Linked DNA regions of Homo sapiens: region 1 is linked to region 2. Evidence: promoter capture Hi-C in human tissues and cell types (Jung and others, 2019). All regions are on one chromosome and are shown on one strand. Each heading gives the region's core, a stretch centred on a gene start or on the middle of the fragment in contact. The rest is flanking DNA. Distances are from core to core; before and after follow the strand shown.

Region 1 (6,630 bases), core at 333-2,832, 460 kb before region 2:
GCCCCAATCAATTGCATTTATCAAGATGTTCTTAGGCATTCTTGACTATTTATAATTCCCAGTGAGCTAACATTGCAAGTAAGAAAATACATTTGGGATTTAATTGGAATGGAATTAAATGTATGGATTAATCTTAATGGAATTGACAAATTTTCATCTTCTTTCCCATGAACACAGCAGGTGTTTCCATATAGTCAATTCCTACTTTTATGTTAAGTTGAGCTTCACACATTTATTGCTAAGTTTGTTGCTGGATATTTTCTATTTTTGTTGTTACGGTGAATGTCATCTTTTTTCCATCATATATTCTAGGTGATTAATGCTAGTACATAGGAAAGGCATCGATTTTTGAATAAATCTTTTAAGTCAGCATCTTACTGAATTCTCTGATTAATTGTAATAGTCCCTAGTTGATCTTTTGAATTTTCTAGGTAAATAATCATAAAATATGTGAAAAATAATTTTGAGCCTTTCTTTTTTATAGTTTTACCACTTATTGTGTTTCTTTCCTTTTGCATTGACCAGTGCAAGATATCTGAAGTGCAATGGTAAGTGTTTAACAACCAGCTGTCCAGGAGAAATAACCCTGATTTGTAGCACTTGCCCATTTCTGTGGTCTAAACACTGCTACCATGGCTGATGTCAAGCCACACCGATGTCACTGGACAAGAAATTAAAAACAGATGCATACCTTTGCTCTTATGAGCCAGCTCGAGCACACCACTGAATAGAACACTAGACCATGAGATGGTTTGTGAGGAAAAAATACTGTGGTCAAAAATAAAATTGGACCTGCCAATTCTGCAGGTTACAACATACATGAGCATATCAAAGTCTCTGAGAAATCCAACATTTCATCATATTGATGCAACATAGTTGGCTTAACTAATCTTGTTATTAGTATAACATATTATACCAATATGTTATATGGGAAATACAACATATTTCCCAAATTTATTTGACTAATACAAAAAGTCGGAATATAGAACATCACAAAGGATTGGCTAAACAGTTGATGCCGTGATAACTTCATGGTTCCCCAGCCTCTAACGGTTCCCATCGTTGCCTAGCAGTTCTTCCCCTGGTCAGCTCTCTGTCCTGGCCTCCATTCTTGCCAACCTTCCCTGCTCTCCTCAAACCTCCCCCGCTCACCATCCTCTCCCTGTCTGTTAGAGGATGATGCCATAGCGCTCCCTCCCCATTGAACGTGCAGGCTCATCTCCATCAGCACTCCCCATCACTTCATTCCCTCTTGGTTGGTGGAGGAGACTGGGACTTCTATAGAATGAATCCTGCATCAGTACCAGTATTCCAGCTGCTGGCTGCCTCCACCTCTGGGGACCAAGGCCAACCAGCCATCCCTTCCCTCTCTGCTGGAGACTTCTCATCAACATCTAAACATGCTCGAGTCTCTCTCTACCCCGAAAACAAGCAAACAAAACCAATTCCTCACCTTCAGCCTCTCTGTATGTCTGTATGGGACCTCACAGTCAGGATTCCCCAAAGAATTGTCTGCTCTGTTCTCTTTTCTCCCATGGATTCCTTGACCTGCTTAAATCTGGCTTCTTTTTCCAATTCTTTACTGAAACAACGTCCAACAAGATCAACAATGATGTACCTGTCACTAAATGCGGTCACTGCTTCGTAGCCCTCACCTTCCCAACATGGCAGCTCCTGACCCAGTTCCCAGCCCTCTCCAGTGAGACATCCTCTGCCTTCCTGACTCCACGTCCTTGGACTTTCTCCACCTTCCCTGCCACCGAGCCTCCTCTTCTGGCCTCTTCCAGCCCATCTCAGTGTCCCTCAGAATCCCTCCCCAGTGTCCCTCTCCCCTAGACTTGCGCTCAAGGGAGTCACCACCTCCCAGGTGTCAAGCTTCCCCTCTGCACTATGGACTCCCAGGTCTCTCCAAGCCCAGAGCAGATATTTGAAATGGCATTCCATGGACCTTTGGGGAGAAATAATGGTGATGAACGATGGTGACCTGGGATTTTCATTCAAGCCAGAGCAATGAGATTATGGCTCTGGAATAAGAAGCAAGACCACTTGCCTTCCACACCGAGTTGCTTGGCCTCTGCCCTAAGTTTATGGGTTGGTGGAAAGAGGTTCTTCGAGGAGTGAACCAAGGACGAATCGTTCCATTGTTCTCTAACTCATCAGCCAGAAAACTCACCCCAAACTCATCACCGCTGCCCACAGGCCATGTTTTAGGGGGCTGATAGAGGAGTCCTCTTCCCACCACATCAGTGACAGCAGCCAACAGAAGGACAATAAAGAGAGGGCACCGGAGGCAGGGTTAGAGCTGGCGGCAGCAGCTGGCTGTTTGCAAACCACATGGCAACTGGGTGCCCTGGGCCGGGCTCCCCCAGCACACTGCACTGTGGTTATAGGTGGATGCTGAGCTTAAACTCCCTCCTTTGCAAGTTTTGATGAGGACCCTCTCGGGGGCATGGGGTGTCCAGCTTTTCCACTGGGTGGGTGCTCAGAGACAAAAATATTTCATATTTGTCACTACCGATGTCCCCAATTATTAACTGATGGTCTTAAGTAAGCTAGCTAACCTCTCTGAAGCTGCATTCTCTAGCCTGTGAAATGGGAATACTATTAGTTGTTATTGTGGGGCCAGAGGCTCCCTGCACAGGGCTCAGTACATGGTCGCCAGCAATGCCTGCAGCTGTGGGCCCCACTGAAGCCATCCTGTCCTCTGACTGGGGGAGGGAAGGTCTCCATGCCCATGCAGAGGGGATGAAAAGCCCCCTGCCCAGCAGGGGACTCTGTGCCCGCTTCCCTCTGTCACCAAGGCCTATATTAAGAACATTAAATGTCAGCGCAGACGCTTTAACTGCTCATGTGCGGGTGAGAGGCAGGTGGGGCACAGGTGTGTCGGGGGAAGAGAAAGTCGGGAGGTAGAAAAAGCAAGGAGGCAGCGGTGGGGGGCGGGTAGAAGAGCAAGACTGAATTCATTAGGACCTGCAGGAACAGGAGGAAGTGGGAAGCCGGAGGAACGAGCAGGCCCTGTGTATGGGACGTTGGTGAACAGTCCAGGAAGGCTGTAGGGTCCAGGGGCAGCCTGACGCCCCACAGGTCAGGAAGGGCCTGCTTTGAGCCTCTGCTTGAAGCCCCTGCAAAAATTTCCACTGGAAGAGAGGATGGGGTTGGTGGAAAGAGCCTCCCGGAAAGCAGACTGTCTGCGAAGGCGGCTGTCAAAGCAAGGCCCTGTTGCTAAGGGAACCGCCCGGGAAGATCCAGAGTGTGGAGATGAAGTCACCCCACCTCCCCGGCAGCCGTGGGGTTCAGGAGGGGTCCAGGGCTTCATCCGAGTCTGGATTGCTGCCTCCCCAGACAGGCGTTGGTCCCTGGAGGGCAGAGACCCTTTCTCCTCTGACTGTGCCCAGATGGGGCTACTCATTAGCAGGCTGGGCTGTGTTGATGACTGTTACAATGATGGCAAAAGAAAGCTGGGATAAAGGGGCCCGGGGGCAAACGGGCTTGGAAAAGCCCTGTTGAAGGACGGTCTAGTGCCAGGGAGTTCTAGAACCTCAGGCCATCTCCCCACAGCACAACATTTTGATTCCACATGAGGGTTTAAGGGACTCACCAAGGGTCTTCAATTAAATTGGGATGAGAATGGCTTTAAGCTAACCTGAGAATTGAAGCCATCAGGGTACGCAAGAAAGACACATACAGGCCAGGCGCGGTGGCTCACGCCTGCAATCCCAGCACTTTGGGAGGCTGAGGCAGGCAGATCATCTGAGGTCAGGAGTTCGAACCCAGTCTGGCCAACATGGTAAAACCCCATCTCTACTAAAAATACAAAAATTAGCCAGGCGTGGTGGCGGGCGCCTGTAGTCCCAGCTACTCAGGAGGCTGAGGCAAGAGAATTGCTTGAACCCAGGAGGCGGAGGTTGCAGTGAGCCGGATTGTGCCACTGCACTCCAGTCTGGACAATAGAGTGAGACTCTGTCTCAAAAAAAAAAAAAAAAAAAAAAAAGACGCATGCAGCTTAGACACATTGGGCTTCAGTTTCCGGCCCCAGCTGCCCACAGGGACCACTCAAGAGCTTTGAAACACACCATGCTGGGCCACACACCCCAGGGAGTCTGACGTCACTGGTTGGGGGTGAGGCCGGGGCTTCAGAGCTTTTTAACACTCCCACGTGACGCCCATGGGCAGCCAAGGGTAAGAACCACTAAGGTGTGGTCACTTCTTCTAAAGGTCATTCTGAAGATCTTGCACATTACACTTTTTGTTACTTTGTGAAACGTTTTATAGACAGGGAAAATAAATGATTTTCTCAGTCTTGGGTGGTGGCAGTGAGTGGCATCAGTCTCCTATCTCGGTTGGGGGGGACTCCATTCAACAGCTTGGAGAGGGGGCTGCACTGAAAAGAAGGAATATCCGCAGTACTGGAGCCAGACTGATCTTGGGCAAGTCCCAGCTCTGCCTTTGGTGACCTTAAGTGAGTTGCTCACCTTCCCTGAGCCTCGGTGTCTTTGTCTGAAAATGGAAATCATATGGAAGTTTCTAGAAGGAGGCATGAGGGCAAGGCTCCACTTATGGTGCCTGGCACAGAGTAAGGTCTCAATAGATAGGAGTTGTTATTATTGTGATCTCAAATTCATCCCACTTGGAAAAAGAGCTGGGTCCCTGCCCAACGCAGACGCCAGCTCTGAATTCCCTGCAGAGCGTCCCTGATCCCCTCAGCTAAAGCCACACACACTCAGCGCCAGGGTGTGGTACCCTCCAAGCTGATGAATGGATTCCCCCTCAACCAAGATAGGACAGTGACACCATTCATTGCCAACACCCAAGACTGAGCAAGTCATTGATTTTCCTTTGGGTGCTGGGGCACTGAGACAGAGCAGACCAGGCTCTGCCTGGGGGAACCTCCAGTCTTGAGAGGACAGGAGAAGAAAATGACGAACCTGATGCTGGCTGGTGAGGGCCACGCTGGTCTCCTGTCACCCTGGGGGGTTCAGGGTCCCCGCGCCTGAGGGCCCCTTCAGCTCCTATCTGTCTTGTCCCTAGAGCCCATCTCCTTGGCCCTGGCCCTCCCCGTCCTGGCCCCAGCACTCCACCCTTGGCGCTGCAGCTTCTGGAAAGGGAGGAGGGTAGCTAGATGCATTCGCTGAGGGTTGACCATGCACCAGGCTTCGTGCTCAGCACCCACATGCATCGCCTCAGTTCATGCTAACAACCATGGGAGGCGAGGGTCTCCCCAGCACCCTCCACAGCTGAGGAGGCTGAGGCTCAGAGGTGGAGTCATGAGCTTGAGGTCACACAGCTGCAGCGTACAGCCAGGATGACCCCCCAGCTGCAGAACCTGTGCCCTTGACCACTGTGCCTCCCTTCAGTGGAGCCTCTCCCATGCTCCCCGCCAGCTTCTAATCACTGGGGCCGGTTCCTCTTACCTGGCAGGGAGGGCTGAAGCCAGGGCGGGGGGTCGCTCCAGCCAGGAGCTTACCAGCCAAAGCCTGCATAGCATGACCTTCACACAGATAGAGCCTAGCAGCCCCCTCTGGGAGGGAAACAGAGCCAGGGGTCACACAGAGCCCCAGGCACGTGCTCCCTGTGGCCCAAAGCAGCTGGTGGTGGGCGAGACTGGGAAGGACCCTATGACACAGCTGGCTCAGAAGCTGGGGCCACCACAGGCGGGGACACCCGGGCTCTGGGGCCAGTCTGAGACCTGGGATGGTTCTGTGAGGAGGAAAAGGGGAGAAGCAGCTGAAAGAGGTGGTTACTTCATGACACCTCACATCTGTGTGACGGGGATGATAACAGCCCCTGTCTGGGCCTAGGCCCTGGCTTAGAAATGGTGCCTGGTCAACATTCTGGCTCCCCCGCCCTTCCAGACCTTGCGGACTCCACCCACCCCAGGCTCCTCCTCAGCCCAGACCTCCTCCTCCCCAGGAACCACATCTCTCCCACCTCAGTCAGACAGTCCAAACCTGGAAAGCCCACGCCATCCTCTCACCCACCTCTCCCCAGATGGAGGCCCTGAGGTAGCAGTTCTCAGCCCATTGGGTGGACTTGGAAGGTGAGGCCCAGAGAGGTGAAGAGATTTTCCTGGCTGGGTGCGGTGGGTCACACCTGTAATCCCAGCATTTTGGGAGGCCGAGGTGGGCAGATCACCTGAGCTCAGGAGTTCAAGACCAGCATGGTGAAATTCCATCTCTACTAAAAATACAAAAAATTAGCCGGGCGTGGCAGCACGTGCCTGTAATCCCAGCTACCGGGGAGGCTGAGGTACAAAAATAACTTGTACCTGGGAGGTGGAGGTTGCAGTGAGCCGAGATTGCACCACTGCACTCCAGCCTGGGTGACAAGAGCAAGACTCCGTCACAAAAAAAAAAAAGAGAGAGAGATTTTTCCCAAGGGTGTGGTAGGATCAGAATCCAGCATTCCTGGTTGCTTTCAAGGTTGGGACCCCCTGAAGATTGGGAAGTGCCCCCCTGGTCAGACTGGGGGCTCTAGACCATGCCCCTGACACATGGAGGCTCAGGATCTGAGAAATGCTGCCTCGAAAAGATGCAGGACTGGAGCTTCTATGACCCGGATTCAGAGAAGACCCCAGGACTTAGAAGGAGGTTTTCAGCCTATAAGAGGTCAGGCAGACAAAAGTACAGGCCT
Region 2 (7,158 bases), core at 2,275-4,774:
TACAACTCCTGCTTCTTGGAGGCTCATGCCATCCAATTAGTTTCTCCTCTCTCCTCCTCATCTACCTCCCCAGTGCTGTTCCTCAGTTGCAGATGCCATGGGGAGCACGTCTGGTTTCCTTTTCACCCCATGTCTGTCCACCATCTTGGGATGGACGTTCACAAGGATCTCAGTTCCTTGACTATCTCATCTTCAGTGATTTTCCCCCCATTCCACTTTAGCTGGGACCCCCTCTCACATGGCTCCTCCTCTGAGGTTATTTGTTGAAACATCCATCTGTGACAATAACCTCCATCCTTCTGCTTTCCTTCATCAGTGACTTCCATTACATCTATTTGAGACCTTTAGGCCAGTGATACCTGTTTTTCTGGAATTCTCTTGCTTCCCTATCCAGCATACTTTCTATGGCTCATTGTTTTAAGCACTCTTAAAAGCTGATATGACCCCATCACACCTGTCTGGCAAAATCCTTCCTTGGATCAATCCAACTTCTCATTCTTTGGGTGTGTGTATCGTGACTGCTCCAACTAGCTATAGAATAATCACACTAGCCATCATATTAGTATCACCATACATTTAGTCTCCATTCTCAACTGGGCCCTCAATACTGTCCTTGAAATCCTACCATATATCACTGCATGCCAACTTACCACAGTAACTACAGTATTTCAAACCCATAGTCGAACTTGACTACAAGGCTTCTTAAGGGTAGGGTCCCCGTCTGGCTTTTTCACCACTGAATCTCAATAGGCACTCAATAAGTATTGCTTACTGACTGAGGTATACTCATACTGGTAGGCATTAGTAAATAATAGTCACATGCCAGGCTCTGTTATATGTAAGCTACATGTATTAGGTCATTCTATCCTTGCAACAAACTAATGAGGTTATGTAGGACTTCTGTCATTCCCATTTTCCAGGTAAAGATAAGAATATTTAGAGAAGCAACTTGGAGAGATGAAGTCACAAAACTTGTAAGTGGCAGAGTGAGTATTCACTTTTTATTTTTCTAATTTTTTTTTCAAGACAGGGCATTGCTCTTTCATCCAGGCTGGAGTGCAGTGGCATGATCACGTCTCACTGCAGCCTTGACCTCCCAGGGCTCAAGCAATCATCCCATCTCAGCCTCCCAAGCAGCTAGGACTACAGGCATTCACCACCACACCTGGCTAAAAAAAATATATGTGTATATGTGTGTGTATATATATATTTTTTTATTTTTTATTTTTTTGAGACAGACTCTCACTCTGTTGTCCAGGCTGGGCTGCAGTGGTGTGCTCACTGCAACCTTCACCTCCCAGGTTCAAGCGATTCTCCTGCCTCAGCCTCTCAAGTAGCTGGGACTACAGGTGTGTGCCACATGCCTGGCTAATTTTTCGTATTTTTTTTTTTTTTTTTTTAGTAGAGACAGGGTTTCACCATGTTAAGACAGGATGGTCTTGATCTTCTGACCTTGTGATCCGCACCCCTTGGCCTCCCAAAGTGCTGGGATTACAGGCATGAGCCACCGTGCCCGGCCTATATAGAGATAAATTTTTTAAGGTAGTGATGGGGTCTCACCATGTTGCCTAGGCTGGTCTTGAACTCCTGGGCTCAGATGATCTTCCTGCCTTGGTCTCTCAAAGTGCTAGGAAATATTTACTCTTTAGAATCTATAACTGCTTAGCAGTTTTAGATAGGTCGAGTTTTATGTGTCTAGGAGACAGTCAGGCAGCTGTGCTTCAGATTGGAACTCGAGAGAGAGAGAGAGGAAAATGGAGAGTAAGATTTAGGAAGGAACAGATAACCTGGTGACCTCAGAAAATCAAATATCCAAACTTGTTCACACCTGCTGCTTTGTTAGAGTGCCTCTGACAGGTCCCTGATGGAACTGTGGTGGTGTGTGTGCAAGAGTGTGTCTGGGTGCTGAGGTGCACTATTCCCCCAGTATAGATATGTGGTAAGATACCAATTACATAAAGTAATGGGATGTAGTAAGAGATCAATCACATATGGTCATGCGTGGAATGAGGATGTTTTGGTCAATGACAGAGTGCATATGATGGTGGTCCCCTAAGATTATAACATGGTCTTTTAATTGTACCTTTTCTGCATTTAGAGATGTTTAGATACACAAATACCATTGTGTTAGAATTGCCTACAGTATATGGTACAGTAACATGCTGTACAGGTGTGCAGCCTAGAAGCAATAGGCTAATACCAAACAGCCTAGGTGTGTAGTAGGCTCTGACATTGTGTAAGTACAGTCTATGATGTTTACACAACCACAAAATCAGCTAACGATGCATTTCTTGTGTCCTCATCATTAAGTGATGGATGACCATATTTGAAATACATGGGTAGACCCACCGTGTTTTTTGTTTTTTTGTTTTGAGACAGAGTCTCTGTCACCCAGGCTGGAGTGCAGTGGCCTGATCTTGGGTCACTGCAACCTCTGCCTCCCGGGTTCAAGCCATTCTCCTGCCTCAGTCTCCTGAGTAGCTGGGACTACAGGTGCACACCACCACGCCAGACTAATTTTTGTATTTTTAGTAGAGACAGGGTTTCACCATGTTGGCCAGGCTGGTCTCGAACTCCTGATCTCAAGTGATCTGCCCTCCTCGGCCTCCCAAAGTGCTGGGATTACAGGTGTGAGCCACCGTGCCTGGCCCCATGGCATATTTATTAATAAGTTTAAAATTGGGCAGGGGTCCCTCAGGGCTGAAATTCAACCTTGAGTTTTTTCTTTTGCTAAGGTGCGTTTTTGAGAGACTTCCCCAAGCATCTTTCAGGTGGGAGAACCACTCTCACTGCACTCCCTGAATCCTTTTTCCCCCTTCATCGTGGCTTTCTCTACTGATTTCCTCCGTGAGAGAGGAAGGGAGCAGCATGAGACACACTGAACTTCTGCCCTGTGCCAGTCCTCCTACATCTCCTGGAAACCTCCCAGCAGGGCTTGAGGAAGATTATTGTCACCTCCATATTACAGATATTATAATAAGAGAAATAACTAACATTGACTGCATGTTTACTATGTGTCAGGCACTATGCTGGGTGTTTTTCAAGCATCATCCCATTCGATTCCCACAGCAATATACTCTAAAGTTGAAACTATTGCCCTGGATGGGAAAACCCGAGGCTCAGAGAGAAGTGTCACATCCTAGGACACACAGCAAGTTATAAGAGCTGGCATTTGAACCCAGGTCTTTCTCAGAGAGGCTGAGCTGCCTCATCACTCATTTCTGGACGAACTAAGGGCTTTTCTCCGTGGAAATGGGGAGAAAGAAGATTCGATGGAGAAGCCTAACACTGATTCCTGCTCAAGGCAAGTCCAGGCACTGGCGCATCTTGCCAGAACTCAGTCTCCGACCCAGGCCTTTCCCTGCACTGGAGAAGCGGCGCGCATGCGCCCGGCCTCCCTCCCGGCCCCGCCCCGCGGGAAGCTACCGCTCCTTGCTTTCAGCTCTGGGGCTTGCGCACTACGTCCCCAGCCAGAGGCTCCTTCCCGGTCGGGGACTTCCGGAACGCCGGGGTGTGGTTCCGGGTCGTGTGCGGCTCGGGGTAATAGGGCTGCTGCTCGGCCGGCCGGCGGCGGCGAGCAGCAGGGGCATGAGGGCTAACCCGGGAAGCGGCAGCTGAGCGGGCCGGGAGGAGCGCCGGTCCCCGTGGATCCCGAGAGTGCAGAGCTCGGGGCAGGGGCCGGGAGGCGTGGGGGAGCCGGGCCCTCCCCTCAGGAACGTGTCCCGGGGCCGACCCGGCCCGTAGTGTGGAAGCAGCTTCAGGTAAAGGTTGCCCCAGCCGCCAGCTCCCCGCCCGTCCGTCAGCCCACCAGCTTGCCCACCTGGCGGCCCTCTCACCCCTCCAGTTTCAGCGCTGCCCGGCGGGCCGCCTGCCGGGCCCTTGTTCAGGTGGCCCGGGCGCGTTCGTTTCCTGGCCATTTCCAGAACTGGAGGCTGTCAGGAGTCTGAGGCGGGTGTGTGGTTTAGGGGAAAAGAAGCCAGCTGACCTGGTAGTGTGGGGGTGGGGGGTGTAGTTGACTCCGGCAGTTTCTGGGCCTGCACTTGGCAATATCTAGGTGCCCTGGTCTTCATAATGTGAAAATCAAGGTTTTCAAGCATTGACTGTGTGGTCCTTGTTTCCTTGCGTCCCTTCTCCCCCTCCCCCTTAAAGAGGTTAACAGCCTTACAGACTTTTTTCTAGCTACAGTGCTGCTGGAACTTTGATTCATTCTTTGTTTATGGGAGTGGCAAGGAGTCATTTAGATTTGTTTAAGGCTGGGAAAAAGAGATTGTAGCGTAAACAAGATTATGACTTTAACCAGAGACCCCCAAATTGACTCAGAAATTGGTTAAAACTTCCTTTTGAATGAATGAAAGTCACTTTGGAAGCCCACCACAGTACCTGGCACTGTACAAAGCACCATGTTGTTATAAACCCAAATCGGCAAAGTTCAAAACTTTCCCAGGTGTGAAGAGTCAAATGGAGACCCATTGGTTTAAAAAAAGCAGCGTTCTCATTCTCTGACAAGCAGGAGAGGTGGATCCGTAATGTTAAAACCCACTTGAGCAGAAGCCTAGATATGGGTTTTATTCCTTATATTTTATGAGCCCACACAAGGTACCTAGTAAACACGGAAAGAGTTCTTGATGAAGCAATAATTGTTTTCATGTTTTTCAGTTTACACACCTGCGGGATTTGGGGCATGCTGGTAGCCCTTTCCCATTCATCTGTGTGCTCATGCCTACCTTCAACTACTGTGTGTCCCAGACTGCACTTACACCCCCTTACATCTCCTAATCTGGCTCCTGGTTACCTTTCCAGTTATGCTTGAAAAGGTCTCCTTCTTTAATTACCCCATCCTGATCCATTACTCTGAATAAGTAGGATCTCTAATCATTTTTGTTCTTTCCTATTCCATTGATTTTTGTAGAACATTCTCCCTACCTTGCCTAGGTTTCCCCTTTTCTCTTTCAGTCTATTGAGACGCTTCCCACGGCTCAGCTGAGTTGGCCTCACCCAACCAATTCAGGACAACCCCACCTGGAAATGATTTTTCCTCTAGAATTCTATAAGCGCTCATTTTTATCTACAATTATTTAACTTAGCAAATGTTTACTGAATATGGATATGTATATATATGCCAGGTACCATGCTAGGCAATTAGAGATAAATATAAGATTCAGTCTTTGCTGCCAGGGAGCTCAATTTAGTGAAAGAGAGATAAGGGAAATGAATAATTCTAACACCGTGATAAGTACATTGTGTGAGAGTTCTTGTGACAGTGGTAGGTGCGGGAGGGGAATGGGTTATTCACCTTTGAGGGATGGGATGTGGCCAGGTAATGCTTCATAATTTGAGGTAAACTAAACTTTGAGTATTTGGGTATTATATAGGGGTTTCTATTGTTTAATCATTTTAACCTCAATTTACAGATTAGGAAGACCCATAATAAATTACACAGCTGGTAGGAGACAGAGCCAGGATTCAAACCCAGGTCTGTCTGATGCCTAAATCTGTGCTTTTTCCATTACATGTCTTGCCTTTTTCTCACATCATCTCCCTCTTTTTATGCAAGTACATATTGAAACCAAAAGTTATATAGGACAAAACATATGAATGTTAAAATGAATGGTACAGAAATCTTTTAAATGTAAAGACTGTGCTCTTCCAAGGCAAGGAGATGGCAGGTAGGTTAGTTAGCTCAGCTTTGAATATGAGCAGAGAAGACAGTCTATAGAAAATAGGCATGGACTCTGGATTCAATTCCTGGTCCCTGTTCTTACAGGATATGTGACCTTCGACACATAACTCCAAGCATCACTTTCTTCAACTAGGGGTTGGGTTAGGGAATAATATTGACCACATGGAGTGTTGTGAATATTTATTGAACTAATGGGGATAAAGGGCCTGGTACGTGGTAAAGTCCCCCGAAATAAATAGCTATAAGATACAAAGGTATAATGCTTGAGGCATGGTTTTAGACTGGTGAGTGAGTTTACAGCCTGAGTCATGCAAGTCATTGCTTCTTTTAGCAGGGTACAAGGACGTAAAGTTGGAGGGGCGGTAGGGGTCAGAGTCAGTGAGGGCTTGAGTACCAGGCAAGGGAGGTAAATTCCAGTTTCTGCTAATAACTTTTCCAGTTAATAAATACTTCGAGGATCTACGATTCATTTCAGCAGTGCCAAGCAAAATGTTAGACCTTGGGGATACAAAAAGAAGTAAAATTGGGTCCCTATCCTGAGGTTATTGACATTCTAGTAGAGGAGATGTCTGTGTGTGTGCAGGTGAACCATAATAAAGTACTGTGGGTTCTAAGGTAGAAGTCCCCAGGAGGTACCATAGAACACTGAGAAGGAAACACTGATGATGGTAGGTAATGAGTACTTACTCTGCTGGTGTGATGTTAAATGCTTTATCTCATTTTTTTCTCGTGTGAGAAGGTGTTATTAGCATCCTGATTTTACAGATGAGGAAACTGGGGCACAGAGACCTTGAATAACTTCCTTGAGTTTATGCTGCTGGTAGAGCTGTAAGATAGAGGGGATTATCTGCTGAACACTGAGATCGGCACTCTTCATTACTACACCATGTTGCTTGTTCTTTGTGATGTGGATGCGGACCCTCTGGAAAGGCTTCAGAGAGAAACTTGCCCTTGAGCTGTAGCTTCAGTGTGCCAGTCATTGTGAGACAGGAGGGATCACGAGGAATGGAAGTGGCCTTTGCACTAAAGGAGCTCATAGCCTTATCTGTTACTTTAAATGTTTTTCTTTTTTGGTGGGGGAGCTTGTTTTGCTTATTGACTTATACCTGAAGACTTCAGAAACTTTTGCAGTTGAGTGGATTTATATGATTCAGCCTAAGATAATTTGCTGGCAATCTGTTATTCTGATGTATAGGCCTTACTGTTACGGACGCAGTTGTAGATGTCAAATTATTATATGACAAGGACTTCTGTCACGTTACTTGTTTTTTTTTTTTTTTTTGAGACAGTCTTGCTCTATCACCCAGGGTGGAGTGCAGTGGCATGATCTTGGCTGACTGCAACCTCTGCCTCCTGGGTTCAAGAGATTCTCTTGCCTCAGCCTCCCAAGTAGCTGGGACTATAGGCAGGTGCCACCACGCCTGGCCAATTTTTGTGTTTTTAGTAGAAACGGGGTTTTGCTGTGTTGGCCAGGCTGG

Evidence for each region. Contacts are between HindIII fragments. The study calls those that stand out against the background at their distance.
Region 1: a fragment that was not itself captured here is called in contact with the fragment with the promoter of MAPKAP1 in region 2 in 1 of the 25 tissues and cell types used here (IMR-90 fibroblasts).

What each region holds. Positions count from the first base shown.
Region 1 is chr9:126,161,642-126,168,271 of GRCh38, reverse strand. No RefSeq gene overlaps it. Among named protein-coding and RNA genes, the nearest start is that of MVB12B, 160 kb to the left of the region's middle. RefSeq lists an enhancer at 5,301-5,802. The HindIII fragment of the contact is 6,764 bases long and covers 1-4,964 here.
Region 2 is chr9:125,703,574-125,710,731 of GRCh38, reverse strand. It overlaps MAPKAP1 (MAPK associated protein 1), which reads left to right and starts at 3,524. Exons shown (of 12, transcript NM_001006617.3): 1 at 3,524-3,761. RefSeq lists enhancers at 3,151-3,310, 3,308-3,602 and silencers at 3,311-3,480, 3,591-3,820. The HindIII fragment of the contact is 13,511 bases long and covers 1-7,158 here.